Linked DNA regions of Homo sapiens: regions 2 and 3 are each linked to region 1. The links are contacts of gene promoters, found by promoter capture Hi-C in blood cells and fetal thymus (Javierre and others, 2016). All regions are on one chromosome and are shown on one strand. Each heading gives the region's core, a stretch centred on a gene start or on the middle of the fragment in contact. The rest is flanking DNA. Distances are from core to core; before and after follow the strand shown. Region 1 holds the start of KRT78 (keratin 78). Region 2 holds the start of KRT73-AS1 (KRT73 antisense RNA 1). Region 3 has its middle 3.7 kb from the start of KRT77.

Evidence for each region. The method cuts DNA at HindIII sites, captures the fragments that hold promoters and counts their contacts. A CHiCAGO score of 5 or more calls a contact.
Region 2: a fragment that was not itself captured here is called in contact with the fragment with the promoter of KRT78 in region 1 in 2 of 17 cell types (naive CD4 T cells and erythroblasts); the score reaches 6.6 in naive CD4 T cells.
Region 3: a fragment that was not itself captured here is called in contact with the fragment with the promoter of KRT78 in region 1 in 1 of 17 cell types (naive CD4 T cells); the score reaches 5.0 in naive CD4 T cells.

The regions. Positions count from the first base shown.
Region 1 is chr12:52,845,825-52,850,243 of GRCh38, reverse strand. It overlaps KRT78 (keratin 78), which reads left to right and starts at 1,250. Exons shown (of 9, transcript NM_173352.4): 1 at 1,250-1,697; 2 at 2,123-2,337; 3 at 3,420-3,480; 4 at 3,952-4,047. The coding sequence starts at 1,314. The HindIII fragment of the contact is 13,226 bases long and covers 1-4,419 here.
Region 2 is chr12:52,608,888-52,613,306 of GRCh38, reverse strand. KRT73 (keratin 73) reads left to right here. Exons shown (of 9, transcript NM_175068.3): 6 at 1,978-2,103; 7 at 2,472-2,692; 8 at 4,026-4,060. It overlaps KRT73-AS1 (KRT73 antisense RNA 1), which reads right to left and starts at 3,456. Exons shown (of 3, transcript NR_126005.1): 1 at 1,880-3,456; 2 at 478-966. The HindIII fragment of the contact is 7,675 bases long and covers 1-4,419 here.
Region 3 is chr12:52,704,966-52,709,384 of GRCh38, reverse strand. No RefSeq gene overlaps it. Among named protein-coding and RNA genes, the nearest start is that of KRT77, 3.7 kb to the right of the region's middle. The HindIII fragment of the contact is 2,096 bases long and covers 1,262-3,357 here.

The DNA of each region.
Region 1 (4,419 bases), core at 1-2,500:
TTACAGGTGCCTGCCACCACGCCTGGCTAATTTTTTGTATTTTTAAGAGACGGGGTTTTACCGTGTTAGCCAGGATGGTCTCGATCTCCTGACTTCGTGATCCACCCGCCTAGGCCTCCCAAAGTGCTGGGATTACAAGCGTGAGCCACCGTTCCCAGCTTAGGAGTATTTTCTAAATGCACCTTGCTTTTTTTTTTGAGATGGAGTCTCACTCTGTTGCCCAGGCTGGAGTGCAGTGGTACGATCTTGGCTCACTGCTCAACCTCTGCCTCCTGGGTTCAAGCAATTCTCCTGCCTCAGCCTCATATGTAGCTGGGATTACAGGTGTGCACCATCACACCTGGCCAATTTTTGTATTTTTAGTAGAGATGGGGTTTCACCATGTTGGTCAGGCTGGTCTCAAACTCCTGACCTCCAGTGACCCACCCACCTCGGTCTTCCAAAGTGCTGGGATTACAGGCGTGAGCCACTGTGCCCGGCCCTAAATGCACATTTCATTTCAGAGCCTGGGTGGCTCTGATTTGTAACCTCAGGAAGCGGAGCCTGATGGCAGGTGGATGGGCCTGGCCCCAAGTGCTTGTGGAAGGAGCAGAGCCACAGGCTGGGTCAGAAACGTGCTGTCCCATGCGATCCTGGATGGAGATGCCTGATTTCAGTGGGTGGTGCCTCATGGATGATTGCTGGGTTGGGCAAGAGGAAGGACTTGGAAACCCTGTTTTTCTGTTTCATTTCCAAATCCTGGAGTGTCTTTTAGCCAACTATGGCAATAACACCTCCACTAACCTCCTCTCTTTGTGGCGCTGCAAGTGCCTTCCTTCTCCAACTCCTTGAGGCAGATTCTCCCTTGAGAATCCAGGGCACTCTGATGCTTCCTCTGAACCCCTTCTAGCGTTCTTTCCTCTTCAACCTCCTCTCGCTTCCCTGTCTCCTTCAGGAAGCCTTCCCTGAGGGCCTCAGTGACTTTGCTCCGGCCATCCCTCCCTGTCCCTCAGCACTGACATCCCAGTCTCCTGCCTGCTTCCTTGTCTTTGGGCATGCCTATTTCTCCAACAGCCTGGGAGCTCTGAGGGCAGGGTCTGGGTTTCCTTCTCCCTTGGCTCTGCACGTGCCGGACACTTATTCTCCAGGCACGTCAGAGTAAGTCAGCTGGAGCCAAGTGACAGACACAGTCAGGTCAAGAGTATCTTGCTCTCCAAGGCCCAGCCCAGGTACGGGAGTGGATAAAAGTCTCGTGCTGGGGCCCCAGGGCAGAAACTCACACACCTTGACAATCTGTCTGTCCGTCTGCAGCTGCGTGACTGTCTGTCTCTGCCATGTCTCTCTCCCCATGCCGGGCCCAGAGGGGCTTCAGCGCTCGCTCAGCCTGTTCTGCTCGCTCAAGGGGCCGCAGCAGGGGAGGCTTCAGCAGCAGGGGCGGCTTCAGCAGCAGGAGCCTTAATTCCTTTGGGGGGTGCCTGGAAGGCTCTCGTGGGAGTACCTGGGGGTCAGGGGGTAGGCTGGGGGTGCGGTTTGGGGAGTGGAGTGGTGGGCCTGGGCTCTCCCTGTGCCCTCCGGGGGGCATCCAAGAAGTGACCATCAACCAGAATCTGCTGACCCCACTGAAGATTGAGATCGATCCCCAGTTCCAGGTGGTGCGGACGCAGGAGACCCAGGAGATCAGAACCCTCAACAACCAGTTTGCTTCCTTCATTGACAAGGTGAGGGTCAACTCAGCCAAGCCCCTGTCTCTGTGCCTCCCTTGGAGGAGCTGCTCTTGATGGACTTGGAAATGGGAAGTTTGGCCTCCTTCTACCACTTTTCTAATAACTTCTGCAGCAAAGAAGTCCCTCCTGTGGACTAACTGGACTCTCTCTGGCTATGCTGAGGCCCTGTTGTTCCATGATTGGGGCTCAGGGACAGAGAACTGCCAGCCAGCGGGGGGAAGGCCCTGCCCCATTAGTCAGTCCAGTCATTTTGTTGTGTTCAGAGTGTCATGGAAGGTCATGAGGCTTCCCCTGCCCAGGTTGGGCAGGGGGACAGGGGAAAGGTGAGGCTGATGGGAGGGTCCCTCAGGCTTTACTTTCCAGAGGCTGTGCACAGGGAGTCCCACAGGAGCCTCAGGGATCCTCTGCTTTTGCTGCAGGTGCGGTTCCTGGAGCAGCAGAACAAGGTCCTGGAGACGAAGTGGCATCTGCTGCAGCAACAGGGGTTGAGTGGCAGCCAGCAGGGCCTGGAGCCTGTCTTTGAGGCCTGCCTGGATCAGCTCAGGAAGCAGCTGGAGCAGCTCCAGGGAGAACGAGGGGCTCTGGATGCTGAGTTGAAGGCCTGCCGGGACCAGGAGGAGGAGTATAAGTCCAAGTAGGCACACTGAAATTTCCCCATGCCATGTGGGCGGGGTCTGGGATGACTCAGTTTGGGTCTGTCAGCCAGGAGGTGTCCCACATACTGAGCACCCAGAGGCACATGACTGGCCTCCCCTCTACCCCTCCGCGTCCCCATTCCCCAGGCTCTCAGGTGCCCACCTGCTACAGGTAAACGAGGTGTCCCGCAGTCCCCAAGCAGATCTGGAGAACCTTGGAGGAAAGGCAGGGAGACCGGTGTCCTACATGCCCCAGCTACAAGGGCCCATGTTTCCGGTCAAGGCTGGGAAGGGCTTATTTAAACAATGCCCCAGTGGCTTTTTTTATTCTTGAGAAATTCCTGTTCAGCGGGCTGTGGGCTAAAGTGATTCAGATGTTCTCTGGTTCCAAAGAGGGAAGGGAATCAATTTAGTGGGGCTGTCCCCAGGCCTGTGACACAATTCACAGATGGGCTGTGGTTCTGGGCTCCACGCCTAGGTCACCTGGTGGAGTGGAGAGAGCCCTGGACTAATAGGGGGCTTGGGTTGGGGCAACTGTGAGTGAGGGGTAGCTGTGCATCCTGGGCAAGGCATCTCATCTCTCCCGGACTTGGTTTCCCTTCTGTAAACTTGGGAAATGTCACCTGCCCTTCTGGCCTCCCAGGGCTATTGGGATAATGGGATGTGAGGTGGAGGAAGGAAGGTTCTGGAAGGAGCCCTGGATTGGGGTCAGAAGACCTGGGCTGGCTCTGCTTTGTCTACCTAGTCATCTGTGGGGTCTTGGTCAAATCATCTAATCTCTCTGATAAAACCCAAACTGCCTACCTCAAGTGATGGGTGTGAGTAGCAAGTGGGAAAAGGTATTCGAATGTGCCTTATAAACTGAAACAATGTGGCTGTCGTCATCAAAAGGACATGGGCTGAAAGGGTGGCACAGGTACATAGCTAGGACGTGGCAGGAAAGGAGAGAAGGGCTGGTTATTGTCTTGTTTGGGGGCATTCTAAGGCAAGGAGTCCTTTTCAGGGAGGTCATGCTCGGACATGGGGGCATGAGCTCTGACCGTGGAGCCTCAAACTGCATCCTTCTCTACTTATTTGGCAGGTATGAGGAGGAGGCCCACAGGCGTGCCACACTTGAGAACGACTTTGTGGTCCTCAAGAAGGTGAGGGTGGGGGCCAGTGCTCCACTTACGTTCTGAGCATCCACTGTGCACGGAGCCTAGTCCTAGGCTGGGAGGGAAAAGGTGGGAGGTCCTGATTTAGGACAGGCTATCACTCTACCTGCAGGGGTCCCCTGGGAAAATGGGACATCTGCCTAGACACAGGGGCCCCAAGGCAAGATCTGACTAAAGGACTGCTTGACGAGCTCTTGATGTCACTGCAGGAGAGGGCGGGGAGGGAGAGGAAGAAGCAGAACTGGTTGTGATTAATCAGGGAAGACTTCCTGAAGGTGATGTTGGGTCAATGTTGGGCAAAGGAGAGAGCAGGACAGAGTGGGGCTGGAGGAGGAAGGAGGGGGTCTTGGGAGGCATGGTGGATGGGTGTTGAGCAGTGCATGAACAGAATTCCTGAGCCAGAGTAGGGACCCCAAAGAGGAAGAGGGGGTTACGTGTTCTCTCTCCCCTTGTCTCCAGGATGTGGATGGGGTTTTCCTGAGCAAGATGGAGTTGGAGGGCAAGCTGGAGGCTCTGAGAGAGTACCTCTACTTCTTGAAGCATCTGAATGAAGAAGTGAGGCTCAACCAAAGGGCAGGCTGCAGCCAAGAGAGAGGACTGGGTGGGCAGGCTTCCTGTGGCCATGAGGAGAATGGCCAAGAGGGGAAGTCTGTTAGGGTGGCTTAGATTCTGGGTCATTCAGTCACTTGACAACCAATTACTGAAAACTTACTATGTGAATTGCTAGGTCCTGGGGATACATCAATGAATAACCAGAAAAAAATCACTACAGATAAAAAAATTGCTTTTTTTTTTTTTTGAGATGGAATCTTGCTCAGTTGCCCAGGCTGGAGTGCAGTGGTGCAATCTCAGCTCACTGCAACCTCTGCCTCCCGGCTTCAAGCAATTCTCTGCCTCAGCTTCCCAAGTAGGTGGGATTACAGGCAC
Region 2 (4,419 bases), core at 1,920-4,419, 240 kb after region 1:
TTCAGTGTGATCTGGAATCAAGTAATTTCTACCTTTTCATTCAAGTCTAACTCCAAGGATAAAGCAGAAGTTTGAGGCCTCAGATCTTAACTCCCCTAATGGTAGTGGGTGGGAAGTGATTCTTTAGATAATTTGGTTTCTCAGATCAAGATGGCAACTTCCTGATTGTTCCTTGCTGTTTATCAGGCTCTTTCTCAAGGGAATCCACACTCTTGGGAGATCTTATCTCATCCCTCTCCCTGCCTCCTTGCTAGCCTGCAGTGGTGGAGGAGAGAGGCTTTCAAGGTCTAGGAGACATAGGCTAGGGCTTCTTGGTAAAGGTTCAAACTCAACTCTTCAGTCCCCAAAGCCTTCCACATTAGTGTTGCAAGCTAGGGTCAGGAATGCCCAGAATCATAACAGTATTATTATTGCTTATTTTGATGATTCCTTTTTAAAGATAAAGAACGTAGGGCCCAGGGAGTTCAAGCTACTTACCAAAGGCAATAGCTGACAAGTGACGCAGCTGGATCAGAATCTAGGTGACTGACTTCAAATTCCACTGCATTTAGGCAGAAAATCAGAAGGTGACTCTGGGAAAGAAGCATTTACTCTAAGGGCTTTGTGTGGCTTGACAGAGGAGTGGCAGGAAGATGTTCATCTGTTTGCCTCAGAATGAAGCTGCTTGGTGTCAGAACCAGTGTACGGGGAGGCATCCTGCTCACACAGCCTTGCGGAGAAGCAGGAGAAGGCCCCTTGTTTAGGGTTGGCACCAAAGATAAAATACAAGGAGTGAAGAGAGAAGCCCTTCTGCCTTCTCTGCTTTCTGGATAACTTGACATCTTTAGGAACAATCCTAAATCTTGGGCCATGCTGGGGTGGAGCACCCAGTGACAGAGACAGAGCAGTACACCAGAGTGCTGAAGGGTCCCTGTTTTGTTTTCCCCTTGAGCCACATTCTGAGTAGAACTGATGTACTCTCTGTGACTGTTTAATAGATGACAACAAAGACAGAAATAATCCCGAATTAGTAGATGACCTAAAATTCATGGCTAGTGGTTTTGGGGTATAGCTGAATCCACCCCCATCATGCACACAAAATGTTCCTCCATGCTAATCCCTCCCTCCATCCCAGCCCTGGAAAGCTGCCTGTGGGCTGGGGCCCAGCTAAGGTATCAAAGGGAGGGAGTCACAGAAAATACAGATGGACAGCTCATTGGCTCACTCATTCATTCATCAGACTTTTTTTGAGCACCAACTAGGCACTATGCTAGGTACTGGGAATTCAAAGTTAAAAGAAAAAGTCTCTGTCATCCATTCATTCTGGGTCGGATGGAGAACACATGGAAACAGGTTCACAATACACTACAGTGTGGGGAGACCTATGGACTGGTGTGCCAGTGGCAACGGAATAGAATTGCACCCAACCAGGGCATCACGGAAGGCCTCATGGAGGAAGGGACTCTGCACTGGTTAAGTTGGAGCTAGCTAGGGAAAAAGGAGGATGGATGGGGGAGGGTTTTTCAGGTCAGAGGAGAGGCTCAGGCAAAGACTCAGAGACAAAAGAACACGTGGGACATCTGGGGGAAGTGTGGGACTGTTTGGCCGAGCTTGGGAGTCAGATAGGTGTTAGGCAAGGGCAGAAAGAAATGAGCCCCTGGATGCCATGTAAGAGTTTGAATTTGACCTTGACTTTGAAGGACGATAGGCAGAGGAACGTCATAATTGGAGTAGTGTGTTATAAAGTTGCCATATGGAGAGTCTGGGACATTCAACAGTCCTTATGGCCAATTCTAACCATCCATGAGATCAGCTGTGCTTAAGGCAAGCAAATGCAATGGCCCAATGCTTTAATGGGAGGCTGCTGATAGACATGGTGAGGCGGGGGACCTGGACCCACCTCTGCCAGGCTCTGCAAGTGCAGGCACAGTCTCTGTACCAGGCTGATCCCAGCCAAGCCCTGAGTCAGTGTTCTTGCTTTGGTTCCTTTTCCTCTAGTTCCAGGAGCTGCAGCTAGCAGCCGGCCGGCATGGGGATGACCTGAAACACACCAAAAATGAGATCTCAGAGCTGACCCGTCTCATCCAAAGACTGCGCTCGGAGATTGAGAGTGTGAAGAAGCAGGTGAAGGGGACTGGAGCCTTCCTTACTCACTCCTAAGGGAGGGGTGAACTGCTTAGCACCCCCTGCCCCCTCCTTCTCTTGAGCATCCATTTCAGAATCCCCTTCTTCAAATGGAGGTCCTGCTCTCATCCCTCACCCTTAGCTCCCATCTGAAGTTTGGAACAATTGCAGATTATTTTCATAAAGCTGTGGGGCCCAGCGTAGCAAGCCTCTCAGTCTCAGGTTGACAGGACTCCACCTGGATGTGGCTGGGTCTCTGCTCCAGGACATGGGGCAGGACAGAGGAGGGCTCAACCATTGAGAGCATGGGAGAGGTGAAGCGAGGCCCAGGGAGGAACTCAGGGAGAAATGCTACCTCCTGACCCCAGTGTGCCAACCTGGAGACGGCCATCGCTGACGCCGAGCAGCGGGGGGACTGTGCCCTCAAGGATGCCAGGGCCAAGCTGGATGAGCTGGAGGGCGCCCTGCAGCAGGCCAAGGAGGAGCTGGCACGGATGCTGCGCGAGTACCAAGAGCTTTTGAGCGTGAAGCTGTCCCTGGATATTGAGATCGCCACCTACCGCAAGCTGCTGGAGGGCGAGGAGTGCAGGTGGGTGGGACCGAGGGACTGGAAGAAACTGCAAGTCTCCACCTTAAAGTTTCCCAGAGTGTGGTTGGGGGCGGGGGGGAGGGGGCGGCGAGCTGGCGATGTGTTTACTTCACCCACAAGCATAGTTTCAAACAGCATCCTGCCAGATAATGTGACAGCAATTTCCTTTACAGTTCTCTTTTGACTCTTTGGAGAAAGTCTTAGCTGGGTGCTGTTGTGTCTTTAACACCTCTCAGATGGCCAGGCGCAGTGGTTCGTGCCTGTAATCCCAGCACTTTGGGAGGCTGAGGCGGGTGGATCACCTGAGGTCAGGAGTTTGAGACCAGCCTGGCCAACATTGGAGAAACCTCGTCTCTACTAAAAATACAAAAGTTAGCTGGATGTGGTGGTGCATGCCTGTAATCTTAGCTACTTGGGAGGCTGAGTCAGGAGAATCGCTTGAACCCAGGAGGCTGAGGTTGCAGTGAGCTGAGATCCTGCTACTGTCCTCCAGCTTGGGTGACAGAATGAGACTCCATCTCAAAAACAAACAAACAAACAAACAAACAAACAGACAAAACACAAAAACACCTCTCAGACACTTACAAATATCCCCTATTGATAAAGAGACAGTAGATCTCAGGTGCAGCATCTCTGGGAAAATAATAGCATTATTTAGCCCAAAAGTTTTAAATTGTTTTCTTTTCATTATATTTATTTTTACTGCTACTTTTTTTCTTATTTGGTTAGGTAATAATACTGGTTTCTATTTACCCTGGTGATAAAAAACTTCTTTTTAAAAGAAATGCACTTTTGTCGTAAAAGGCAGAGTCAATTAAAAATACTAAATATCTAACAGTACAAGTCAAACATGGTCCTAGCAACAGTCAGAAGGGTGGCACACGAAGCATGAACATTTGAAAAACCCTGTTCTAACCAAGCACCATTTTATAACTGAGACCTGGAGAGAAGTCACTTGCCCCAAAATCATACAGTTCGTTCATTAGTAGCAACTCCTGATCCTGATCTTTCCACATATGTATTTATTCAGACAGCTGCTCACAGTAGTAAAGAAATGGGTTCAAGAGAAACCCTGCAGGAGGGACCTTGGGGGTGGTAATGTTGTTGGGGGTTCCAAAGTTGCAGGTTCCACATCTCTGCAGTGGGAAGAGTAGATTGAGGAGCGAGAGGGAGGGCTTAGAGACATGCAAGGGCAGCCAGTGCCATCTGGCAAGTGTGGGGTGCGTGAAGGCTGAGCTGGTCTGGCTGGGGATCCCCAGCCTGTGTTTAGGCAGTGAGGGCCACTATGGGAGTCCACGTGATTCAGACTCTCCTGTGCTTTTCTCTCTTGCAGGATGTCCGGAGAATATACCAACTCCGTGAGCATTTGTGAGTATTTCATGACTCTGAGGGAATACTTTTAGTCCATCAACAAACACAAAGTGGGTGGGTGTCCACCGCCCAGCCCCCTGAGGAAGAGCTTGGCTCTGCCTGTTGACCACTTGGTCACATACTCACCTTCCTTGCTGAGACCTGCGGCCTCCCCATTCAGAGCTACTTCTTCCAGGTGGAGCTAGTGCCCAGGACATTCTGATACTGCACACTAGCCTCTTTCATAGCAATCTCCTGCCTGCTGTGGTGAAACTCTCAGCCCCTCCCCTCTTCTGTCACCCCCACACCGGCTCTCCTGCATGAAGGAAACTGAGCACAGAGTGGTGCCTCCTCAATGGGAGTGGAGACTGGTGTGT
Region 3 (4,419 bases), core at 1,060-3,559, 140 kb after region 1:
TCTCATTTCAAGGAGGTTAAAGGCCCCCATTCCTAGACCGGGGCTGCAGCTCTCCACTCTCTTCTTGGTGGGGACTGGTGAGTGAGAGTCTCTCTCCCTTCCTTTTTCCAGCCCCACGCCCCTGACACACCTCTGTGATATCCACCTCCAGACCCTGGGAAATGTAGGGTGAGGTGGGGGATAGAGCTTTGGGAGCTGCTCCTGCTGGTCATGCCAGCAGCTCTTCTGAACCCTGCTTCCCGCTGCTGTCTGGAACTGTGATCCAGGTGGCTGATAGTTGCTCTGGGCCTCACCTTCTTGGCAGCCCTGGGTTTCAGTAACTGGGAGATGGGCTGGGTGAGCTGCAGCCTTCAACTAACTTCCCACTTTCCTTTTAAGGTGGCAGGTGGGGAGAGGAGGAAGCGGGCACATCTCTCTCCAACGACCCCATCTCTTCTGCAATACATGTAGGTTCTGAAGTGGGAATGCGCGGGTTCAAATCTCCATTCCACTATTTTCATTAGTGTATTCTTTGACAAGATTCTCTTTCCAAGTCTCACTTTCTCCATTTGCAAAATGAACATAGTAAGAATATCTTCCTTATGATGTTGGTATTTAGATTTCACGAGACCTTCCATGTTATAGACAGCACAGTGCATGGTCCATGGAAATCACCTGGTGAAGTTCACTATTATGATAATGATTGTTACTCCTATCTGTGTCCTTAGACTGAATGGAATCTAAAGAGGCTGTTTCATTTGTCCTGTTTCCTCCAGGTCAGTGGTCTCCAAACTTGCTGCACATTAAAACCACCTTTTAAAAATTCTAAAGTCCAGACCATAGCCCCAGACCAATTAAACTCTACTCCTTAGGTGTGGGCCCAGGCACCAGCGATTTTGAAGCTTTCTAGGTGATTCCAGTGTGAGCCAGTTTAGAAACCGCTGCTCTCTGCAGTCTAACCAGCTGAGGAGTTTCTTTTAGGGGTAGTGATTCGTCCTAGGAACATTATTTACCCACTAATATTGATCTGAGTTGAAACACTTCCTTTGAGACAAGCAAAATCTCTCGTGCTTCACTTTAAGTCATTTTTTTTTCTTCTGAGGAAGTAGAGCATAGCTATCACCCTCCACCAAAAGCTCAGTTAGTGGGTGTGTCCCTCCTCCCCTCCCAAGCCCTTCAAGGGATGACAACAGCCCAGCAGGGGCCATCAGCTGACGGGAGGTAGATGACAATGTTGGCATTGAATGCTGAAAGCTGATCATAGACAGAGATCAAAGAAGCTTCCTAAACTCTGCTGTCCGGGACTTCCTTTTTTATGTTATCACAATGGAATATTTTCACATTCAGCATGACAGTATATAGAAACCTGGGCGAGTGCTGAACAAATTCCACTCAAAGACATTGCTGGAGCCCTCTGTGACCGAAGCCAAACTCAGGCCTCAGGGTTTCCCAGTTGCTCCCTCGAGGCAAGGGGGCCTCTTCATGGCTCCCCCATCCCACCCCCTCACATGCCCGTTCCTTTCTCTAGGCCTTGGCACGAGCAGTTTCTCTGGTCCTTCCCAGTCCCAGTCCCTACAACAGAGCACCCTCTCACTGGCCTACAGTACATCCTTCGAGGTTAGCTTGAGCTTGCCTTTGCTTCTGTGAAGCCTTTTCCAGCTGCCTGTCTTTCTAAAAACTCTCATCGCATTCATAGGTCTCAATGCTGTAGCCACAGCCACACAATAACACCTCTCGTAAGAGCAAGCCTTTTAAAATATTTGTTGTCTTCAAGTGCTCTATTTAAGGGTCAGATGAATAGCGTTCAGGGAACTCAGTGATTAGTTCAATCATAAAACTGGTACATGGGGGGAGCTGGGCTTTAACTCCAGGGGCACTTAATTGTGGGGCCCAAGCTCTTGGTTCTCTAAGCTGTCCACGTCTCTTTACTTTAGCTCAGTCATGAAGGCCTTTGTTATTGGCCCACTCTGCCCAGCAGTTGCAGGAAGAAAGGGGCTCCTGGTCCATGAAGTCTTGTCCCAACAGCAAGGAGCTTCCTGTTTGTTTAGGTGGCAGTAGAGACAGATGCGAAGGGGTTAATTATGTGTATTCTTCATGAGGAGGAGGTGGGGTTGAAAGTGAGTGGTGCAGCCGGAGAGAGAGGTGGGTTCACAGGGAGGGGTTGGGGAACAGAACCTCACTTGTGTGACTCCTTGGGGCTTGCAAAGTGCTCTTCCATATTTGTTCATAGCCATTCATTACTATCACTCTACAAAGCTGTTATTTTATATATATATATATTTTGAGACAGAGTCTCCCTCTGTTGCCCAGGCTGGAGCACAGTGGCGCCATCTCGGCTCACTGCAACCCCTACCTCCCAGGTTCAAGCGATTCTCCTGCCTCAGCCTCCGAAGTAGCTGGGATTATATATTTTTGTGTTTTTAGTAGAGACGAGGTTTCACTATGTTGGCCAGGCTGGTCTCAAAACTCCTGACCTCAGGTGAGCCACCCACCTCTGCCTCCAAAAGTGCTGGGATTACAGGTGTGAGCCACTGTGCCCGCCTGGTTACTATTTTCTTTATTTTAGAGGTCAGGAAACTGAGGTTCAAGGAGTCAAGTGTCCCAGCCATGGGGCTAGGAGGGGGCGGAGCCAGGAGTCAGAGCTGGGTTTCAAGATGCCCAACTCAAGGATCTGTTCGCCACACCACTGCTGTTTCCTGTCTGGTACTTACTGTCCCTTCTCCTATCAGCCCCCATTTTCTCAGCCAGACCCCTACTTCTTCCCCCTGCTCTGTTCTTTCTGCCTCTCCTCTGATATCTGACTCAGAATCCTGGTCTTCAGGCAGCTTTCTCACATGAACCCACCCCTTTCCCTAGCTTCACCTCTCTTTCCTTCCTCTGCTTCTACTGGTTCTCTCCTTGTCACTCTGTGCTGGAGGCTAGGCCCTGGCTTCCCTCTCTTACCTTAGGGTTAGGAGTATGGCTGTGTGGACCATAGGTGCCTAGGACTAGGGTGACCAACTGTTCTGATTTGCCCAGGTATATCTTGGTTTAAGTACTGAAAATCCTAGGCAAAGCAGGACAGCTGTCATCCCACCAGGATCTGTGAGCAGCTATTTCTGCTTGTTTAGTGATTCCAGTGCTCTGCTTTTTTCTCCCCACATGACTTATATATAGCTTTGAATCCTTGAGAAATAGACACTTTGGTTCCTTAAGTGTCTGAGAGGCTCTAGGTTCCTTAAGTGTCTGAGGCTCTAGACACAACCAGCAAGCAGCAGAGCTTCTGCCTATAAATTTCAGGCTCATTGTCTCCTCTATCACACAGTGTCTCCTGGATGACCCACTGAACAGATACCATGTACGGAATGCAGAGGTTCATGAGAAGAGGGTGTGGAAGCTTGGAATTGCCCTTGGAGCATTTCCCTGTACCAGGATGACTTTTCACTGCGGCGCCCCCACAGTGCTCTTGTTTCTACCACCTGTTCTTCCCCACCTCTATTGGGATTTCTGCCACAACTTTCTTTTTTTTTTTGAGGTGGAGTTTCACTCTTGTTGCCCAGGCTAGAGTGCAATGGTGCAATCTCGGCTCACCACAACCTCTGCCTCTTGGGTTCAAGTGATTCTACTGCCTCAGCCTCCCAAGTGGCTGGGATTACAGATGTGCCACCATGCCCGGCTAATTTTTTGTATTTTTAGTAGAGATGGCATTCTCCATGTTGGTCAGGCTGGTCTCGAACTCCTAACCTCAGGTGATCCGCCTGCCTTGGCTTCCAAAAGTGCTGGGATTAAAGGCGTGAGCAAAAAATATTTATTGCAATGAACATAAAGAAAAAGGACATTTAAAACACCAGGAAAATTCAGCCGGGCACAGTAGCTCACGCCTGTAATCCCAGCACTTTGGGAGGCTGAGGCAGGTGGATCACCTGAGGTCAGGAGTTCTAGACCAGGCTGGCCAATATGGTGAAACCCTGTCTTTATTAAAAATACAAAAAATTAGCCAGGCGTGGTGGTAGGCACCTGCAATCCCAGTTACTCAGGAGGCTGAGACAGGAGAATCGCTTGAACCCAGGAGGCAGAGGTTGCAGCGAGCCAAGATTGTGCCACTGCACTCCAGCCAGGGCAACAGTGCAAGACTCTGTCTCAAAAAAATAAGCAAACAAACAAAAGAACCTAGGAAAACTCCTCCCACAGTCTCTAAATAAATCAACTCACTTTCTAGTTACTCACAAAGTCTGTCTTATCTGCATTTTTTTTTTTTTTTTTGAGAGAGGGTCTCATTCTCTTGCCCAGGCTGGAGTGCAGTGGCACGATAAGGGCTCACTGCAGCCTTGACCTCCCAGGCTCAAGTGATCCTCCTACCTCAGCCCCCCTGACCCGTGGGAGCTGGGACTACAGGAGTGTGCTACCACACCTGGTTAATTTTTTGTATTTTCAGTAGAGATGGGGTTTCGCCATATTGGC